Regions from separate parts of the Homo sapiens genome. Here regions 1, 2, 3 and 4 are each linked to region 5. The links are contacts of gene promoters, found by promoter capture Hi-C in blood cells and fetal thymus (Javierre and others, 2016). All regions are on one chromosome and are shown on one strand. The core of a region is centred on a gene start or on the middle of the fragment in contact, and the rest is flanking DNA. Distances in the headings are between cores, read along the strand shown.

The links. The method cuts DNA at HindIII sites, captures the fragments that hold promoters and counts their contacts. A CHiCAGO score of 5 or more calls a contact.
Region 1: a fragment that was not itself captured here is called in contact with the fragment with the promoter of STON1-GTF2A1L in region 5 in 1 of 17 cell types (activated CD4 T cells); the score reaches 5.7 in activated CD4 T cells.
Region 2: a fragment that was not itself captured here is called in contact with the fragment with the promoter of STON1-GTF2A1L in region 5 in 3 of 17 cell types (neutrophils, monocytes and total B cells); the score reaches 9.4 in neutrophils.
Region 3: a fragment that was not itself captured here is called in contact with the fragment with the promoter of STON1-GTF2A1L in region 5 in 2 of 17 cell types (fetal thymus and megakaryocytes); the score reaches 7.7 in fetal thymus.
Region 4: a contact is called between a fragment that was not itself captured here and the fragment with the promoter of STON1-GTF2A1L in region 5, in 1 of 17 cell types (neutrophils). The highest score is 6.0, in neutrophils.

Annotation. Positions count from the first base shown.
Region 1 is chr2:47,775,718-47,778,417 of GRCh38, reverse strand. No RefSeq gene overlaps it. Among named protein-coding and RNA genes, the nearest start is that of MSH6, 6.1 kb to the left of the region's middle. The HindIII fragment of the contact is 4,643 bases long and covers 1-2,700 here.
Region 2 is chr2:47,825,025-47,827,724 of GRCh38, reverse strand. The region is part of intron 11 of FBXO11 (F-box protein 11); the gene reads left to right. Among named protein-coding and RNA genes, the nearest start is that of MSH6, 43 kb to the right of the region's middle. The HindIII fragment of the contact is 5,049 bases long and covers 1-2,700 here.
Region 3 is chr2:47,888,562-47,891,261 of GRCh38, reverse strand. All of the region lies in intron 1 of FBXO11 (F-box protein 11), which reads left to right. Among named protein-coding and RNA genes, the nearest start is that of FBXO11, 17 kb to the left of the region's middle. The HindIII fragment of the contact is 1,236 bases long and covers 833-2,068 here.
Region 4 is chr2:47,797,276-47,799,975 of GRCh38, reverse strand. It overlaps MSH6 (mutS homolog 6), which reads right to left. Exons shown (of 10, transcript NM_000179.3): 4 at 1-1,365. It also overlaps the pseudogene RPL36AP15. Among named protein-coding and RNA genes, the nearest start is that of MSH6, 15 kb to the right of the region's middle. The HindIII fragment of the contact is 3,395 bases long and covers 1-2,700 here.
Region 5 is chr2:48,528,504-48,531,203 of GRCh38, reverse strand. It overlaps STON1-GTF2A1L (STON1-GTF2A1L readthrough), which reads right to left and starts at 1,279. Exons shown (of 11, transcript NM_001198593.2): 1 at 1,216-1,279. STON1 (stonin 1) reads right to left here and starts at 1,050. Exons shown (of 4, transcript NM_006873.4): 1 at 988-1,050. RefSeq lists a silencer at 719-918 and an enhancer at 510-1,057. The HindIII fragment of the contact is 9,785 bases long and covers 1-2,700 here.

The DNA of each region.
Region 1 (2,700 bases), core at 185-2,684, 750 kb after region 5:
GCCTGTGCCTCAGTTTCTACATCTGTAAAACAGGGATGATATTAACACTACCTTCTTCATGGGTTGTGCTAAGCATTGAGTGAAAGGGCATTATGAAGCCCTCAGCCCAGTGCTTGGCACGCCATACGTATTCAATAAATTGGACAGTTATACAAATAAATCACCAACTGGCCAGGGACAGTGGCTCACACTTACAATCCCAACACTTTGGGAGGCCAAGACAGAAGGATGACTTGAGGCCAGGAGTTCAAGACCAGCTAGCAACATAGTGAGAACCGCCTCCTTCTCTACAAAAACATTTAAAAAATTTAGCCAGGAGTGGTGGCACGTGCCTATAGTCCTAACTACTCTCTACTCGGGAGGCTCAAGGCAGGAAGATTGCTTGATCCCAGGAGCTTGAGGTTGCAGTGAGCTATGATCAGGCCACTGCACTCCTACCTTGAGACCCTGTCTCAGAAAAAAAAAACAAAAACAACACACACACACACACAAAACAGAAGAAGAAAACAAGTATTCTCCAGAAGAATACAGTGCCCTGTGTTCCCCCCTTTGCCCGTCCAAGGAACAGCGTGACCCAGCAATCTACGTCTTTGTCCTGGGCCTTGGGAGATAAAGTCAAGGATGAAGAAAGGAGGGGCATGTTTTGTGAGGGTTCCGTCCTAGCCCAAGCAGCTCACGATCACCAGGGACAAGCCTGTAGTCTGCCAAAGTCAGGGTTTGTTTTGCTGGTTGCAACGGGGGAGCCTCCACAGCAGACGAACCATGGGGGTGTCTCACCAAACTACAAAAGGGAGGGAGAGGGTGGAGTTTAGGATAAATTTACCTGAAACAGTGTTTTGAAAGCTCAAATCTAGCTGTGTGTAAAGACAAAGCTAAACTACAAAGTCCACCCAAGGTCGCATTTCCTTGGAAACAGCAAAGTTAAGATAGATGTGGAATAGCGTCCACAAATCCCGTATCTAAAGTTACACACCTGGGTTGTAAATCAAAGCTGTTTCTGTGTCAAAGTAAGACGCTCCAGGCAAGAGTGGGATGTTTCATTTTTGCTGATATAATTTCAAACAGCAAGGCAAGGGGAGGTGGCTTACGCCTGTAATCTCAACAGTTTGGGAGGCCGAGGTGGGAGGATTCCTTGAGCCCAGGAGTACAAGACCAGCCTAGGCAGCAGAGTGAGACCCTTTCTCTACAAAAAAAAAAAACACAAAAATTAAAAATAAACCAGCTGGGCATGGTGATGCATGCCTATAGTCTCAACTACTGGCGATGTTGTGGAAGAATCACTTGAACCCGTGAGGCCGAGGCTGCAGTGAACCGTGATCGCACCATTGCATTCCAGCTTGGGTGACAGACTGAGACCCTGTCTCTAAATAAATAAATAATAACAATAATTTCAGCCAGCAAAGTTTCTGAAAGCCTATGACTTTAGAGAACAAGATTTCTGAGATTGTCAAGAGTAAAAAAAAGTTTTCCTTATGCTACTTTGGGATGGCAGTTTATCCTTGGGACAGATTGTGTTTCCTGTTTAACTTTGTAGCTGACTTTATCTTTGTTATCCCAGCCAGATGAATGGCCTGGAATGTTTCAGATTTCTCATTCCTTGCTTATTTTAACTTTCTCAATTCTCAGGAAAAAGGAGGGGAGAAACTTTGTGCAAGTCAGGTGGAAAGAAATAGCACTTGCACTCTGCCTTTGGTCAGCAAGGGTACAGAAATCAAAGCCTCTTGTGTACTCCCCTAAGTACCAAAGGTGTGGTGGAGGCTCTGGGAGGATGGCTGGGGAAGACAGACCCAGAGTCCACTTGGAGAGAGGAAAGATGGGCCTGAGGGCTTCCATAGCCTGGAGGCACTCCCTTCCCCCACTCCAGCTATCTTCTCCATCCTGTGACTAACATCCATTATTATTTTATTTTTTGAGCCAGGGTCTGGCTCTGTCACCAGTGGTGCGAACATGGCTCATTGCAGTCTCAACCTCCTGGTCTCAAGCAGTCCTCCTGCCTCAGCCTCTAGAATAGCTGGGACTACAGGCATGCTACTACCATGCCTGGCTAATTTTTAAAATTTTTTTTGTAGAGATGGGGTCTCCCTATGTTGCCCAAGCTGGTCTCAAACTCCTGAGCTCAAGCAGTCCTCCCACCTCAGCCTCCCAAAATGCTGGGAATACAGACATGAGCCACCTCGACTAACTGGCTGGAAACTTTCATTATCTCAGACCACAAATGGCCCTGGGGGATAGAGAGATGGGGAGGGCTAGCACCAGTATTTCTCTAGCTCTCCAAAGCCATCCTAGGTGGAATTGCCAGGTACTTTTCTAATATGGTCTCAGCCTCTGATCTCCAAAGTCTGGCCCCAGTCTTGCTTCCCAACTGACTGGCCATTCCTGCCCTCTGCATTCACTGTTCTGGGATCAGCCCTGCTCTGAGGCCACGCAGACCTGTTCTCAATCCTGGCAACCTCAGGTACAGGTTGGGCACCCTGGGTAAATTTTTTGCACTTGAGCCTTGGTCTCCTAATCTGATAAATGGGGATTCACTAATATTTGCTTATGGAGGTATTGGGAGGATGGAATGAGATGAAGTGAAAACTGCTGCCAGGCGTCTAATGTATGCACTATAAATATAAATCTTTCCCTTCCCCTCAGGCTGCTTTTGCCCCCTTTGCCATTTCACAATGAGCCAAAGTATGATGGAACTGGATAAGCCCT
Region 2 (2,700 bases), core at 148-2,647, 700 kb after region 5:
TCCACCTCAAAAAAAAAAAAAAATCTAATTTCTTACAGTTCTGTATTATTGATTTATTTTGTACTAGAGGTATTGCTTAACAAAATAGTTGCATTCTATTAAAATACGTCTTGAAGCAGGCCGGGTTCAGTGGCTCATGCCTATAATCCCAGCACTTCGGGAAGCCGAGGCGAGCAGATCACTTGAGGTCAGGAGTTCCAGACCATCCTGGCCAACATAGTGAAACCCCATCTCTACTAAAAATACAAAAATTAGCTGGGCGTGGTGGCTCACACCAAAAGTCCCAGCTCCTCGGGAGGCTGAGGCAGGAGAATCACTTGAACCCAGGAGGTAGAGGTTGCAGTGAGCCGAAAGTGCGCCACTGCGCTCCAGCCTGGGCGACAGACACTCTGTCTCAAAAACAAAAACAAACAAACAAAAAAATCTTGAAGCAAAATTACATTAACTGAATCCATAATAAAAATAAGTTTTCTTGCAAAATTATAAAACTATAAGTCAATCAATCTTTGTCATTTCTAAAGGTAGTAAAATCATTGTTGTGCCAATGTAGAGGCTTCTCATTTTAAGGTCGTTGAGAAAAGAAAACTTTTTGCTGCTTTATTTTCTTGAAAGTTACTCTGAAACAAAAGATACAGATTATAAACTCCATATTTGATGGAATTAGGTGACATATTTAATCCTTAACCTAATTTATTAATACAATGTGGTAAATGACTGCATGCCTGTGACCAGGGCAGCCAACCAGATTGGAGCAGGTTAAAGCTCCAATAAAGCTGTTCAGAAAGATAAATTGGTAAACCTAATGTAAATGTAAATGTATTAAGAGGTGATTTATAGGAGATGATGCAGGAGAATCGCTTGAACTTGGGAGGCAGAGGTTGCAGTGAGCCAAGATTGGGCCACTGCACTCCATCCTGGGCAACAGAGTGAGACTCTGTGTCAAAAAAATAAATAAAAAGAAGAGGTGATTTGGACAACTAGCAACAAGTTTAGGATAGAGTTGTCACTAGAAAGCTAAGCAAAGGAGAAAAAAATCCAAAAAATTGTGCAGCAAAGAAGTCATATTTTATGGCTCAACTCTGAATAGCACACTAATCTAACCAAAATTAAGGTTAAACTACACTGAAAGGATACAATGTGTGAGTATATATTGTGGGGGATAGAGAGGTAGGAGAGCTAAATTCTGCTGTCCCATAATAGAAGTCAGTGGATAATACCTAAAACTGGAAAGTGAAGACTAAGTACAGTGAGTTACTTAATAAAATAGATGTGAATCAAAAGAATCAGCTAAAAGAATTAAAAGTGGGGCCCTCTGGATAAAGGAAATGAGGGAGAGGGCTGCTATTTGCCTTAAAAAACTTGTGGATCAGCTGGGCGCGGTGGCTCACACCTGTAATCCCAGCACTTTGGGAGGCCGAGGCGGGTGGATCACGAGGTTAGGAGATCGAGACCATCCTGGCTGACATGGTGAAACCCTGTCTCTACTAAAAATACAAAAAATTAGCTGGGCATGGTGGCGGCACCTGTAGTCCCAGCTACTCGGGAGGCTAAGGCAGGAGAATGGCGTGAACCCGGGACATGGAGGTTGCAGTGAGCCGAGATCGTGCCACTGCACTCAAGCCTGGGTGACAAAGTGAGACTCCGTCTCAAAAAAAACCAAAAAAACTTGTGGATGTACTTGAGTCTCTTAACTCTGTAAAATCAAAACCTAAAGAAAACAAAAAGATTATCCCTTGCATTTGAATACTGTTTAGTCAGTGTATATCAATTTTTTTTTACTGTATCACTGCATTCAGAGGTATCAAATTTTGCTTGCAGCGCTGTAAAAGTTTACCAGTCAGATTTGTCGGCCCGGCATGGTGGCTCACACCTGTAATCCCAGCACTTTGAGAGGCCAAGGCGGGAGGATTGCTTGAGGCTGAAAGTTTGAGACCAGCCTGGGCGACATGATGAAACTCCATCTCTACTAAAAACACAAAAATTGGCCAGGCTTGGTGCCATGCACCCGTGGTCTCAGCTACTTGGGAGGTTGAGTGGGGAGGATCGTTTGAGCCCAGGAGATTGAGGCTTCAGTGAGTGATTGCACCCTTGCACTCCAACCCAGACAACAGAGTGAGAGCCTGTCTCTAAAAAAAAAAAAAAAAAAAAAAAAAGAAGAAGAAGAAAAAATCCACCAGACATGTCATTCAACTCTTGGCAGAGAGAGACTAAGAGTTATACTAATTGTGCTCCCTCCTCATGGGTGAAAACATCTGAAATGGTGAATAATCTAGTATTAAGTTCTCTTTGTCTAGCCTCTTTTTGTTTTTTTGATGGTCAGTTTTGCCATAACAGTGTATTTATACACCCAGTGTGTATTCACTTTTATTCTGTATAAAATCAAAGAAAAAGTTTTATATTTGAAGACGCTATCTTTTATATAGCTCCTGATTTGTTTTAAAAAAGAATAAGGTTATAATCCAAATATAGAGATATAAGTTATAGATAATTTGTTCTTTATTAGAAAATGAAGTCTGAAAACTACTTTTGTATGTTATTCTTGGAGGCCTGTTTTCTTGAAGAGTTAAACATATAGTATACTAGAGTATTCAGAATATCCCCTTTTTAACCTCTACTAAATTTGGCAAAAAAAATTCATCAAATCCTGTTTGAGTACTTACTGTGTGTAAAGTCTTACATACATGCTCCAGAAGTTAGAAT
Region 3 (2,700 bases), core at 201-2,700, 640 kb after region 5:
CAGGCATGAAGTTTCAGTTAAGCAGGATGAATAAGTTCCGCCATACAGTATTGTACCTATAGTCAACAGTACTGTATTGTACACTTAAACATTTGTTAAGAAGGTAGTATTCATGTATGAGAATAAAGTAAAAAGTAATAGTTTTGGCAGTGGCTCATGCCTGTAATCCCAGCATGTTGGGAGGCAGAGGCAGGAGGATCGCTTGAGCCCGGGAGTTTGATACTAGTCTGAGCAACATAGGGAGACTCCATCTCTACAAAAAAAATTAAAAAAAAAAAAATCCCGGTATGGTGGCACATGCCTGTGGTCCCAACTGCTCAGGAGGCTGAGATGGGAGGATCACTTAAGCTCTAGAGGTCAAGGCTGCGGTGAGCTATGATTGCACCACTGCATTCCAGCGTGAGCAATAGAGCAAGACTGTGTCTCAATAATAATAATATTTTTTTTTTTCTTTTTTTTAGACAGGGTCTCGCTCTGTCGCCCAGACTGGAGCACAGTGGCCCAGTCTTGGCTCACTGCAACCTCTGCCTCCCGAGTTCAAGAAGTCTCCTGCCTCAGCCTCCCAAGTAGTTGGGGTTATAGGCGCTTGCCACCATGTCCAGCTGACTTTTTGTATTTTTAGTAGAGATGGGGTTTTGTCATGTTGGCCAGGATGGTCTCAAACTCCTGACCTCAGGTGGTCCACCCACCTCGGCCTCCTGAGTGCTGGGATTACAGGTGTGAGCCACCGTGCCCTGCCAATAATTTTATAATTCTGATTGTGTCGTGAACTCATACTACTTGATTGATGATACAGTCCCCATGTAGGGCATTTTAAATTTGAATAAAAGCTTAAATGTTACATATTTTTAATGTTGGAAGTGTGCTTTAAGTGCTTATTAATTTATAGACATCTATATTTTTATTCACAGCAACTTTAGGATGATAATTGACTATATTATTTCTAGTAAATGAGGATGACTGATAATCAGGAAGTCAGTTCAGAATTAAAATTAGTCCACTCACCATGGCTCATGCCTGCAGTCCTAGCATTTTGGAAGGATGAGGTGAGAGGATCCTTTAAGACCAAGAGTGCAAGACCAGCCTACCAACATACTGAGACCCTGTCTCTGAAATAAATAAATAAATAAATAAATAATAAAAATTAGCCAGGCCTGGTGGCATGTACCTGTAGTCCTAGCTACTCAGGAGACTGAGGCAGTAGGATTGCTTGAGCCCAGGAATTTGATATTTGGGACTCTGAACCAGTGATTCTTTCTTTCCAGGATAAGTTTGCGACTGTAGCATAAAATTCTTTTTGCGTCAGATAATTTGATTATGGTAGTAAATACGTACAAATGTTTTGCTCACAAGCCTGTTGAATGATGGAAGATGAAAAATTTAGTATGCAAATGTACTGGATAATTAGAAAAGAGGAATTTAATGTTGATCACAACAGGTGGCTATTTTTTCTGAAGGTACCCTAGTGGTATGGACTCATGTCTGTTTAATAATTTTATGTGGGGAATATTTTCTTTTCGTAAAACTTGAGTTTACCTGTGAAGAAATTAGTCACTGTCAATTTATTAGGTGTTGAAACAGATTGCTAAGGGAAATAATTTCATCATTATTGGTTAAAAAAAAAAAAACCCTCTCACTTTCTAAGAGGATTTCTAAGAAGAATGTGTTTGGGAATAAGTAATAACCATTTTTTTAAAAATGTAGGACTTTGAAACATGAATTTAGTTCTTAGATTTTTAATTGACTCATCTCACACTCACTTGATAAGTTGTCGGACCATCTTACAGGCTTCTTATAAACCTAAACCAAGAGAAAACAAGTGTTTTCCTGAGAAAGCACACTAGAAAACCTTCATTAAAGAGATCAACTAAATTTTGTTGCTTTTTGTTTTTTAATTGGAAGCTACTGATGTGGTTAAGGAAAAATCAGTAAGTATAGATTCTAGGGAATAGTCTACATGGTTCTATGAAGAGCCAATCACAGATTTATTTAATGTATTTCTCTGAAACAGTGGCTTTTAGTAGCTGAAGAAGGAAGAAAAGCAACATAACCGGATTTAAACAAAGCTTTTGTTTTTTCATGAAGCAGTCATATTGGTGTTATGTCAGTTGGGGGAGATTTTAGAAAGTTATGTTATGGAAACTGTAACTTATAAAAAAATACTGCTAACTTATAAAAAAAAGTACTGCTAGCCATTTGCACATAGACACTTAGTGAATGAATGTTTCTGTTTTCCTTCATCTTCTCTAGTCCAAGGTGTGTTCATATAATTACCTAATTTACATTATTGAGCATATTAAATATGTTCATAGATGATTAAAAACTGGGTGCGATTAAGTACTCAACCAAGAACAAATCAAATTACTTTGAATAACCTGTTTTTAAAAAAGCAGATGTGTTTTAATCTGTGTGGACAGAAAAAAAATGAGCAGACTCTTTGAACTGTCTAGCTAGAACCAAATATAGCAGATAGGGGCTACAGTTGAGGTTCTGAAGTGTGTGTGGTTTGGGTGCTTGGGTGTGTATAAACACATGATACTGTATCATAGCAATAAGATTTGTAAAACATTGCAATGGCTGAAAAACTGTCTAACAGGAAATTTTAAGTGTTATTCCAAAGAAGAACAAGCCTAAAAGTAAGTTAACCTTTCAGAGTGGTTGAAAGTAATTTTTAAAAGAAAAAGGTTGCTCAGCTATTTT
Region 4 (2,700 bases), core at 1-2,500, 730 kb after region 5:
TGAAGTCATACCTTTAAGCACCTGGGGTAACATCACCCCAATGCCATCACTTAGCTTTTCCCTAAAATATTCTTCCTCAAGGAGAGTTCTCAAAGTTTTGGATGCATCCCAAAACTGGGAGCCGGGTATCAGACCTTCCTGAAGAGAACAGGACAATGAACTCTTTAGAATTGTTTTAGTTTCCTTTGAGAGATTTCCTTTTTCAAATAAAACTTGTACTGGGGGATAGTGTGCCACTAGAGTCCTAAATCTCGAACAATGGCGATCATCTGAAAACTGACCTATGAAAAACTTTCCCAGTGAAGTATCAACAAAGCACACACCATATGCACGAGTATGGCCAGAAGAATCTTCCTCTTTTTCTTTGAGGCTAAGAAGATACTTACTGTAGTTCTCAGAGGGATCACCTTCCAGCACACTGTAAGTCTGTGTACCCTTGGTAATGATCCTACAGATCTCCCTCCTCACCACTCTATCATACTTGGATATATGTGCCATCTTTCTACATCGTGCCTCCATCATTTCTGGAGTCTCAGTCTGTTCCACTCGTGCTACTTTATAGCCCTTCTGCACCAGGGAATCTGAATAACGGCCAAATGCAATTTCAGGAAAGCCAGAATGGGCCCAGTTGCCTTTCATGAATACCAGCCCCAGTTCACTGACTCCAATAAGAGCATCCATGTGGTACAGCTCATAAAATTTCCCCACCTTGTAACAGATGACAAGATCAAAGTTCTGAGACTTAATCTGCCACCACTTCCTCATCCCAGGAGTACAAGAATTGAGGAAATCCTCAGGCACATAGAGTGTAGATGCATCAAAATCGGGGTGATCAGGCCTCCTCCTGTGCTCATCTCTTCTCTTTTCCTCCTTAAGCCATTCTAAAGTTTCATGATACCAAACAGTAGGGCGACTACTGTCATCACCACCTCCACTAACGTGGGCTTGGGATTCAGAATTTTGAGGGGCAGAGAAAGCTCTCAAAGTATTCTTGGTTTCTGATGAAATGCTAGTTGCTTGTTTGGTGGCTGAGGGCGTTTCCTTCCTAGAGCTTTTCCTTTTAAGAGAGCCATTTCCAGTCACCATTCTCTTCCGCTTTCGAGCAACTTTGACAGGGCTGTTCAGGCCTTCACTCTCACTATCCCCCACTCCACTGCTTATTTCATCACTGCTTCCTTCCTCCTTAGTGTCTGGCTTAAATTCCACATCAGAGCCACCAATGTCACTCTCAGAATCTGATATGACCCTTCGTTTTTTTATTTGGCGGCTACTTCGCCTAGATCCTTGTGTCTTAGGCTGTACTTCCTCTTCACTCTCAATTTCATTATCTTCTTCACTCTTATCTGTTACGTAAGTTGTGCCTACCTGCCAGGCAAGGAAAGAGTATTTAAAAACAAATCAAAATTTGGAAAACCATAATGTAAGACAGTTCAACTTATGATTTTTTGACTTTATAATGGTACCCGTGCAGCCACTGTTTTTCATTTTTAGTACAGTATTCGATGAATTACATGAGATAGGCAATTCCTTATTATAAAATAGGCTTTGTGTTAGATGATCTTGCCCAACTTTAGGCTAACATTTAAGTGTTCTGAGCACGTCTGAGATAGGTTAGGCTACGCCCAAGCTACAATATTCGGTGGGGTAGGTGTATTAAACACGTTTTTAGTTTATGTAACCCCATCATAAGTTGTGGATGGGATAACCCCATCTGTACTACTGTAAATTCTCTTAATATGCTGCAACTTCATATGCCAAAAAAAGAACCCACCTCTAGAAATTAGAAACCTCTCAATGAACATCAACTTCAGTTTCACTTGACATTAAAACAATTGTCATTTTCCATGCCAATAGTTCTCCTGCAAACGTGGTGGAAAAAAAATCTCTGGACTTGCTGTAAGTGTAGCAGACACCAACCCCACAAAGTGACATAATACAAGAAGGGCAAGGATTCTCTGCCCAGGGAAAGCAGCATTATGAAGGAAGCAGAGTGGGTATGGGGGGTAAGTCGACTCTGGCTAAAAGACTAAAACTATAAAAAAGATTGTGCTGAGGCTTGAGTTTGAGCTCATGTGCAAAATCCAAGGGAATGCTAGCTATTAAGAGATGCAAGCATTTTGAACTGGGAGGAGGTAAGAAGAGACAGGCAAAGTGATCCAGTTCTAAGCCTCATCTTTTGTTTTACTATGAAGACAATAACATCTTGAGGTTATGTTCAAAAACACAAAGTGCTGCACCGAGCACAGTAGCAGGTGCCTGTGGAGAAAATCGCTGAGCCCAGAAGTTCAAGGCCAGCTCGGCAACATGGTGAGACCCCACCTCTAACTACAAGATTAAGTGATTGCTGCCATGGGAGTTCTATTTATGACAAAGCTGTTGGCATGACCATATATCATAAATATCAGGAGGCGATATGCTCATTAATAGCATAAGAAAGCAGTAAGCAACTTATACTGGTTCTAGTGTTTGCTCTTCCACAATTGGCTGTCTCATCTCAGGCCTAGCACATTCACATATCACGGATCTCCCGGATTATTTGTTAAACCAGTATTAGGCTAAATGATCTCTGTAGCTGCCATCCAGTTCTAGACCTCTGATAATGTTATGATCCTTAGTTTCAACCTTAAAATTAAAATACCCACTTTATTAACTTGCTCATTCCCTATCTTATCTATTGAAAAAGGAACAAAACATGAAACT
Region 5 (2,700 bases), core at 30-2,529:
TTAAAACTTCTAGCCTGGAGGAGGCTGTAATCGTGTTTGCGGTTAGTCTGAAAACAAGCTACACTGAACTTCTATCTCCCAGGAAAACAGTCGAGTGTGGACTGAAGTCAAAAATGAGTATTTTTAGCAAGCATTCTCTCTCTTCCGTTTATTTTCTTCCTTCTTCTGTCTTTAGATATTAGAAACGCTAATTACATGAAGTATCATTATTATTCGAAGAAAGCACAGTTAGAAGGGTTAAAAATAAAAAGATGCCAAACCAACAGAAGCAGTACAATCCTAAGGAGGAATATATTTTAATTTTTCCCTGTACCCACGAGGTTCAGTTTGTGGGTCCAAGGGACCCAACCCCAATACCCAGTGAATGGTCATACCTGCAGGAAATATTTGGGCCAGTGTGGTGGCCCCCGCGGCTGTGGCCCCGTGGCCTGGCTCCTTGCCTTCCAGGGCAGGAGGGGACTCCGGGCTGCAGGCACAGGCTAAGGTCCGAGCTGAGGTACCAGGGAGCGGGGAGGGACAACAGCCCAAATAACAGCAGTCAGAAGGAGGAGGGAGTCCGGGAGCGGGAGAGAGACACAGAGACCCCGAGGGAGGCGTGAGGGGCGCAGAGCTGGTGGCCCGGGTCCGAGAGGTCGAGGGGCCGCGCGCGGGTGAGAACGAGCCCCGGCCCCCGCCCTCGGAACTGAGTCGATATTCCTTTTTTTGCTGTTTGAGTTTTCTCTTTAGAGTCGGACCCCGGTCCCAGCAGCAGTCTCAGAACAGAGGGGAGCCGAGGAGTCCCTGCCGGGAGGCCATCCCTCTGCGGGCCCCAGGGCGCCCCTGGGGGCGGCCAGGGCGGGCGCGGGGAGATGGGGAGGCGCCGAGCGGCCCTGGAGATGCCCGCGTCCCGGGGCGCCCGCAAACTTTCCCAGACACGGCGGGAGGCCCCACCCTGGAGAGGGGGGGTCCCAGGCCTCCCGTCTCTGTCCCCTGGGGCTGGTCACTCACCGGCAGCGCGGTTGGGGCTCCGATTCTGGCCGCAGCCAGCCACACCAGGAGGCGGAGGAAGAGGAGGGGGAGGAGGAGGGGGAGGAGGAGGGGGAGGAAGACCCGGGGCCGCCGAGTGGAGGGCGGGGAGGGGCGGCCGCGGCGCAGTGACTCCTCCCGCTCCCGCCCCCGCCCCCGCCCCTCCTCCCCTGCTGAGCCTCCCTTCTCTCTTCACGCCTTCTTTCTCACCCCGAATCCCCCAAAGTTTTTCTGGTGTCCGACGCTCCGTTCTCTTCCCTCCAGCGCATCTTCTGTCCCCGAGTCTCCAGCCTCCCAGAGGAGGGGAGAGCGCTCCCTCCTGCAAAAGTCGGGGGGCGGGGGCGGTAAGTCTATGAGTTACCTTTCGATGCCCTCTTGAAGCAGATAGCTTGGACCCGTGGAAGGTCTGAAGCCACCCAGCACCCCCAGACCTTGTCCTCACCTCTGGGTGGGGATGATGGAGGGCCTTTGCGGTCGTGCTTTCTAAGTTGCTTCATGGAGTTTTGTTTTGTTTTGTACCCCCCGCCTCACCCCACCCCCACCCCCCACCCCCCACCTTGTAATTAGGAGAACTAAAGAATTATATTTGAAAGGTAAAGATGAAGCCCCACCTTCCTGGGCGAATCAATCATAGCAGGAGGAAGGACACAAGATAGTTTAGTGAGGGCCAAGCTGTGGGGGTGGGGAGGAGGTAAACGCGTCCAGATGCCTCCTCTTTGCTGCCTCAAGAGTGCATGGAGAGGGAGAAGGGGCGTTGTCCTCCCAGGAGAGGCTGCAGGGTGTCTCGTAGTCCCTATTCCATCGCCTGCTGGCAAATGACTCCAGGCAAGTCACTTGGCATCTCAGCCTCTTCCTCAAGGGGGGCTGCCTCACTGGGAGCCAGTCAGAATGAAGGCACCCTCCCCACCCCTTTACCCTGGAGAGACACCAAAACCCAGGACGAGAGACTGAGCTGAGTTTGAACAGGCTCAGAGGGGAGAGAAGAGGGCATTTTAGGCCCCATGGCATGGTGCTTTGGAGGTTGGCAAGACTGGAAGGCTTAGGGTAAGTGGGCAATGTTTAGATGGGAAGGTGGAGCTGGGCATGAAGCAGAATACAGGAAATCTCTGAAAGTTTTCAAGCGAAGGTGTAGAGTAGGCACTCAGTGAATCCTTGAGGATTCAAAATGGCAAATAAGAAATATTGGTTTAACAGTCCTGTAGGATGGACCACCTAGGAAGAAAGGGGTTGCATCCAAAGAGAGGGGTTAGGAGGCCCCGGTGAGCATCTCAACTTGAAGTACTATGCTGGAAGGTGGAAAGGCAATGAATTATTTTTTAATCGTAAATTTCCTTGAGGAGCTGGGCTAACTCATAGGCAGTGCACCCAGGGTTGGTGAAAATCAGTGGACACTTCTTTGTATTTGCACAGCAGTGTAATTCTTTTTTAAATGTTCTGTCAGGTGTAGCCTTGTTTTTGACCTTGGAGTTCGCTGGTGAAATGGAAATATAGTCAGTACCCTATTTGACCTCCAGCCAGTGTTAAGAACCTGCCCTCGGGGCTTTGAGGAAGGAAACTGACGTTCCAGGAGGGCACTCCTCGAGCGCCTGAAATCACACAGCCAGGATCTATTTAGGATACTTTTATTCTCAGATAAAACTACTAATTGTGCTTATGCTTAATATATCCTAAACACAGAAAAAGGCACTGGTTTCT